2 separate regions of the Homo sapiens genome follow, and region 2 is linked to region 1. Evidence: promoter capture Hi-C in human tissues and cell types (Jung and others, 2019). All regions are on one chromosome and are shown on one strand. The core of a region is centred on a gene start or on the middle of the fragment in contact, and the rest is flanking DNA. Distances in the headings are between cores, read along the strand shown.

Evidence for each region. Contacts are between HindIII fragments. The study calls those that stand out against the background at their distance.
Region 2: a fragment that was not itself captured here is called in contact with the fragment with the promoter of KCNK1 in region 1 in 1 of the 25 tissues and cell types used here (H1 embryonic stem cells).

What each region holds. Positions count from the first base shown.
Region 1 is chr1:233,612,334-233,615,746 of GRCh38, forward strand. KCNK1 (potassium two pore domain channel subfamily K member 1) reads left to right here and starts at 1,773. Exons shown (of 3, transcript NM_002245.4): 1 at 1,773-2,193. The coding sequence starts at 1,839. RefSeq lists enhancers at 899-1,551, 2,740-2,799 and silencers at 1,340-1,439, 1,800-1,869, 2,210-2,269. The HindIII fragment of the contact is 20,351 bases long and covers 1-3,413 here.
Region 2 is chr1:233,888,952-233,892,364 of GRCh38, forward strand. No RefSeq gene overlaps it. Among named protein-coding and RNA genes, the nearest start is that of SLC35F3, 14 kb to the right of the region's middle. The HindIII fragment of the contact is 7,569 bases long and covers 1-3,413 here.

The DNA.
Region 1 (3,413 bases), core at 523-3,022:
CATTTTTTCCTTAGGGGTAAGAGCAAAGGGAAGAAATGGATTACCGATGAGTAAATTTTGAAGTACAGAGAAGTAAAGTGGAGGGCTGGCTTCAATCTTTTGAGTAACGTAGGAGGTAAGGCTATTGACTAAAAGTGAAAAATCACTGATATATATGTTAGACATTTGCACAAGTTTCTATGAAAATACAAAATATGACTTGTTTAGAGAACTTCAGTAAAGTAGGCAAATGTTCAGCTAGGTGTTGGAATGATTAATTGTACAATTCAGTTTTGTGTATTTTAAATGTTTTTCCTGATTACAAAAATAATATATATCCACTGTAGAAAATTTGAAAAATATTAAAAGGTACAAGAAAGGAAAGTCATCTATATACTCTACTATTACCCAAAGACAACTGCAAGGAGATAGTTTTATTCCTATGCAGTTGATTAATAATGCAGATGTCATTTTATTTTGTAACAAAATACAAATATTTTACATATTTGAGATTCTACACAGTTTTGCTTCAATAGTCTTTAGACACAACTTTAATGTGTTTAATGTCTATATGGTGTCCATGCTGTAGAGATGCCATAACTTATTTAACCATTCTCTATTTTGGAATATTTAGATTGTTCTGAGTCTTCATTATTTCATCTATACCGTGTGTGTGTGTGTGTGTGTGTGTGTGTCCCACATGTGTATGCACTATATTATACAACTACATGTATGTATATATAGATACCGTCTATGACCAGTCTTTGTAAGTAAGTGCCTCTCTGATTGTTTTTTCTTAGGACATATCACTGAATCAGAACAAATAAACCCTTTCAAGGTTCTTGAGACGTGTCGCTAAATTGCCTTTCCAGAAAGGGTGTACCAATTTTTATTTTCATCCACAAGCAGGCGGCTCGCTGACCCTCGCCCACATTTTTGTCACTTTAAAAAGAAGTGACAGTTGGGAAAGCTCAGTTTCTTCTGGCAGTTGACACATTTGGGATGTTTTTTCACCAAAAAACCTAAGGTCATGTTTTAGAAAATTCGAACTCAGAAATAGGACTTCTCTGAGACTCTCCTTTTCCCTCAAGTCCTTTTTGTGAGGGGGATGGGTGGGAGAGAGGAGACTGATTCAAGGAGCCTTCCAACTCTGATGTTCTGGTATTTTCACCGTCATTACTGGCACCAGATTGCTCAATCCTTCGACCAATAAGACAAAGAAGGAAAGTACTTCAGCGCTTGCTGTTTTGTAATACTGGCTTTGATTGGGAGAAAATAAGTGGGAAACAAGAGTAGCTTGGACAGGGGGCTTGGACGGCCAGCGCATTGACCAGAAGCGGCCCACACTACACGCGCGCGAACACACACACACACACACGCACACGCCGCGCGCGGTCAGCTAGAGTTTGGCTACTGGACCCAGGAAGGGAGGGAGCGGGAGGAGCTGGTGGCTGTCGGGTCGGGGTCTGGGCGCCACCGAGCGCCCGCCCCACCTCTGGAGTGCGCAGAAGGCGGTGCGTCCCGGGCCCCGGCAGCCCAGCCCAGGCGCTCTGGCCAAGTTTGCGCGCGGTCTCCGCTGACTCTCGGGTTACCTGAGCCGGCAACCACGTCAGCGCCACATCATCTGGGCTTTTTATATTGCAAGGAAACAGGAAAAGAAGGAAGAAAAACATCGCCCGAGAGAGCCAATCGCAGGAAGACGGCGCTGCCCGGAGGAGCGGGGCGGGCGGGCGCGCGGGGGAGCGGGCGGCGGGCGGGAGCCAGGCCCGGGCGGGGGCGGGGGCGGCGGGGCCAGAAGAGGCGGCGGGCCGCGCTCCGGCCGGTCTGCGGCGTTGGCCTTGGCGGCGGCGGTGGAGAAGATGCTGCAGTCCCTGGCCGGCAGCTCGTGCGTGCGCCTGGTGGAGCGGCACCGCTCGGCCTGGTGCTTCGGCTTCCTGGTGCTGGGCTACTTGCTCTACCTGGTCTTCGGCGCAGTGGTCTTCTCCTCGGTGGAGCTGCCCTATGAGGACCTGCTGCGCCAGGAGCTGCGCAAGCTGAAGCGACGCTTCTTGGAGGAGCACGAGTGCCTGTCTGAGCAGCAGCTGGAGCAGTTCCTGGGCCGGGTGCTGGAGGCCAGCAACTACGGCGTGTCGGTGCTCAGCAACGCCTCGGGCAACTGGAACTGGGACTTCACCTCCGCGCTCTTCTTCGCCAGCACCGTGCTCTCCACCACAGGTAGGGTATCCTGCGCGCCCCCTGGCCGCCCCGGCCACCTCGCCCACAACCCACACACCCCGGCCCCGGCGCCCCGGGCCCCTCTAACCCTCCCACCCCACCCCCCACCTTTCGCCATCCCGGCTCCTCCAGCCCGCCTCCCCTCACTGTCCTCCCGACCCTCCGACCTTCCCCTTACTGGCGTCCCCGGCCTCTGCCTGGGTGACTCGGGAGGGCAAGCCCTGCGGAGCCGGAAGCCAGAGAGGTGACTCCAGACGTGACTTGGTTGTTGCCGTCCGTAACTCTGGGGAAGTGGTCCCTAACTTCGGCCTGGGTGGCTGCAGGTGCTTCCTCCCCTTGAGTTCTTTTTTCGCAACCCACTAAGCCAAACTGTCGGGTTTGAATGTGTAGCAGCACCTGGCCGCCGTGCGGCAAGGCAGCGGGATGATGGAAACTCACCACCTTCCTCCCGCACCCATCCCAGAGGCCGAGGCTGCAGTCTGGTAATAATACCTTCTAAAGGGTCACCTTCCGGAGTGTGCCGTCCCTTTGGACCATGCACAGATATTCCAGCTCTTTTGTACCTTGGAGGCAGTTTTGGGGGTAGCCGAGTGACATCACTCTGCTCTTCCCAGGTGACCTCTGGGCGGACAGGCCGATCCGGTTTCTTTTCAGAGTAGGAGGAAGGGTGAGGGAGAGTAAAGGAACCATAGGATTGCCTAAGATCTGACTTAATTGGGGCACCCTGATTCAGCAGTTCCTTCAACTTGAGGTGTGCGAGGCTCCCCATAAACTTCGAAGCGCCACGTCCCCGTACGACTCACCCGCGGGGCGCCCGGCCATGGAGGAGCCTCCTCAGGTGAAAGATGAGGCCGGGCGCATGCCCCAGGGCTCGGTCACTGTGCCAGATCAGATGAATGAAGGCCGAATTTCCCCAGCCGGACCTAGTAAGGCACATACCCAGAGTGGAGATATCAATTGGTATTTGGACAGTGGGAGGAATCTGAAAGAGCGTTCAGCACAGTCCCTTCTTTTGATCTATGAGATCCAATCTTTGAAATAATCCATCTCGTCATGCACAAGGTCACACACTTCCTAGTTACCAGTGTCGTCCTGGAACCTGGGCCTTGTGATTTCTCTGCCAGGACCACTTTGTAACCCCCCACCCTCAACCTTTACAGGTGAATCACATCCCTTTGTGTGACTCCCAACTCTTCCTTCCTCCCCACCCCCCTCCACCA
Region 2 (3,413 bases), core at 420-2,919, 280 kb after region 1:
ATATTTACTTAGTCATTGAGAATGGGAAGAGTTAGAAAAGATGAAAAACATGATGCCTAAATTAAAAGAGGCTGCCATTTATTGGGACATAATAAACAAAATGCAGTACGTGTGGGCATATATCTTGTATCAGTTCATTTTCACGCTGCTGATAAAGACATACCCGAGACTGGGTAATTTACACAGGAAAAAGCGTTTAATGGACTTACAGCTCCATATGGCTGGGGAGGCCTCACAATCATGGTGGAAGGCAAGGAGGAGCAAGCCACGTCTTACATGGATGGCAGAAGCCAAAGAGAGAGAGAGAGCTTGTGCAGGGGAAATCCTCTTATAAAACCATCAGATCTTGTGAGACTTATTCACTATCACGAGAACAGCATGAGAAAGACCTGCCCCCATAATTCAGTTACCTCCCACTAGGTCCCTCTCACAACACATGGAAATTCAACATGAGATTTGGGTGGGGACATTGCCAAATATATCATATCTCTATCTATCTATCTATCTATCTATCTATCTACCTACCTACCTATCATAACCCATATACCTTACATAAGATATCAGAGAAATATATCACAGCAACTATATTTTCTGACCCAAAAATTGTGACATATTATCTGACAAAGACCATACTCTTTGAAAACAATGGAACAGGGAATTTGAAATCACAACTGATTCAGAAAATTCAGGACAGTTGGTTGCTACACATACTGTCTGGGTTAAAGCCCCAGAGGAAATTGGCTGGGAGGACATTTGAAGTCTCCCCAATGCCAACCTTTTATGGAGAATTTAGTGTTAACCTAGAAGTGGATACTGACAATAGCAGATAGTCTAAATAAATTTTGTAAAGTTGCATGCAATTAATTCCTCACATAGCTTATTTTCCAATTACTGTCTCCCTCAGTTTTACTCGTTTCCTCATTTGTTTAACGAATAATTATTTTAGCAGAACCTACACAGGTATTACATCAGATATCAGAGTCACAATGAAAGCAAAAGAATTTTTGCCTCATATAATTTTTAGCCTAGTGTGGGAATCAGGCACTAACCAAATAACACTGTAACTTAATCTGTAATAATACTCTGAGAAGGGTTATAAAGGCAATTATAGAGTATCATAGGGTTATAAAGGGAAAACTTGGTCCAATTTGGGAAGGGTCAGGAAAGCCTTCCTGGAGAGAGGCAGTCTCAGCAGAAAATTCAAGGCAGGTGAAGGAGTTGACAAGGTATGGAGGTGGGAGGTGGAAGGCCTTCCCAGGCAGGGAGGGTGTCTTGTGCACTACCCAGAAGGCAAGAGAAAGTAAAGCACATTCCATGGGCTCCAAGAGGCTGGTATGGATAAAGAACAGCTACAGGGTGCAAGTCAGGAGGCAGCTCAGGAGAAGGATTGGGTCTTGATATGGTTTGGCTGTGTCCCCACCCAAATCTCATCTTGAATTGTAATTCCCATAATCCTCACAAGTCATGGGAGGGACCCAAAGGGAGGTAATTGAATCATGGGGGCAGTTACTCCCATGCTGCTGTTCTCATGATAGTGGTGAGTTCTCGTGAGATCTGATGGTTTTATAAGGGGTTTTCCCCCTTTTGCTAAGCACTTCTCCTTCCTGCCATCATGTGAAGAAGGACATGTTTGCTTCCCCTTCTACCATGATTGCAAGTTTCCTGAGGCCTCCCCAGCCCTGTGTAATTGTGAGTCACTTAAAGCTTTTTCCTTTATAAATTACCCAGTCTCGGGTATGTCTTTATTAGCAGCATGAGAACAGACTAATACAGTAAGTTGGTATCACAGAGAGTGGGGGTGCTGCTATAAGGATATCCAAAAATGTGGAAGTGACTCTGGAACTGGGTAACAGGCAGACGTTGGAACAGTTTGGATACTCAGAAGAAGACAGGAAAATGTGGAAAAGTTTGGAAATTTCTAGAGACTTGTTGAATGGTTTGACCAAAATATTGATCATGATATGGACAATGAAGTCCAGGCTGAGGTGTCTCAGAGGGAGATAAGGAACTTGTTGGGAACTGCAGCAGAGGTGACTCTTGTTATGCTTTAGCAGAGAGATTGGTGGCATTTTGCCCCTGCCCTAGAGATTTGTGGAACTTTGAACTTAAGTGAGATGATTTAGGGGAACTGGTGGAAGAAATTTCTAAGCAGCAAAGCATTCAAGAGGAAGCAGAATATAACAGTTTGGAAAATTTGCAGCCCAACGATACAGCAGAAAAGAAAAACTCATTTTCTGAGGATAAATTCAAGCCTAGTGCAGAAATTAGCATAACAAATGAGGAGCCAAATGTTAATCACCAAGACAATGGGGAAAATGTCTCCAGGGCATGTCAGAGGTCTTCACAGCAGCCCCTCCCATCACAGGCCCAGAGGCCTAGGGGGAAAAATGATTTTTGGACTGGTCCCAGGGCCCCTCTGCTGCTCTGTGCAGCCTTAGGACTTGGTGCCCTGTGTCCTATGTATAGCTAAAAGGGGCCAATGTACAGCTCAGGCCATTGCTTCAGAGGATGCAAGCCCAAGGCCTTGGCAGCTTCCACATATTGTTAAGCCTGTGGGTACGCAGAAGTCAAGAATTGAGGTTTGGAAACCACCACCTAGATTTCAGAGGATGTATAGAAACACCTGGATTTCCAGGCAGAAGTCTGCTGCAGGGGCAGAGCCTTCATTGAGAACCTCTGCTAGAGCAGTGCAGAAGGGAAATGTGCAATTGGAGTCCCCGCACAGAGTCTCCACTGTGGCACTGCCTGGTGGAGCTGTGAGAAGATGGCCATCATCCTGCAGACCCCAGAATGATAGATCCACTAACAGCTTGCAGCTTGCACCATGTGTCAGGAAAAGCCATAGGCACTCAACACCAGCTCATGAAAGCAGCATGGAGGGAGGCTGTACCCTGCAAAGCTACAGGGGCAGAGCTACCCAAGGCCATGGGAGCCCACCTCTTGCATCAGTGTGACCTGAATGTGAGACATGGAATCAAAGGAGATCATTTCGGAGCTTTAAGATTTGACTGCCCCACTGGATTTTGGACTTGCATGAAGCCTGTAGCCCCTTTGTTTTGGCCAATTTCTTCCATTTGGAATAGGTGTTTTTACCCAATGCCCCCCATTGTATCTAGAAAGTAACTGATTTGCTTTTGATTTTACAGGCTCGTGAGCAGAAGTGACTTGTCTTTTCTCAGGTGGACTTTGGACTTGGACTTTTGGGTTAACGCTGGAATGAATTAAGACTTTGGGTGACTGTTGGGAAGGCATGATTGTGTTTTGAAGTGTGAGAACATGATATTTGGGAGGGGCCAGGGCAGAAGGATATGGTTTGGCTGTGTCCCCACCCAAATTTCATGAATTGTAGCTCTCATAATCCCCACATGTCCTGGGAGGGACCCGGTGGGAGGTAATTGAATCACAGGGATGGT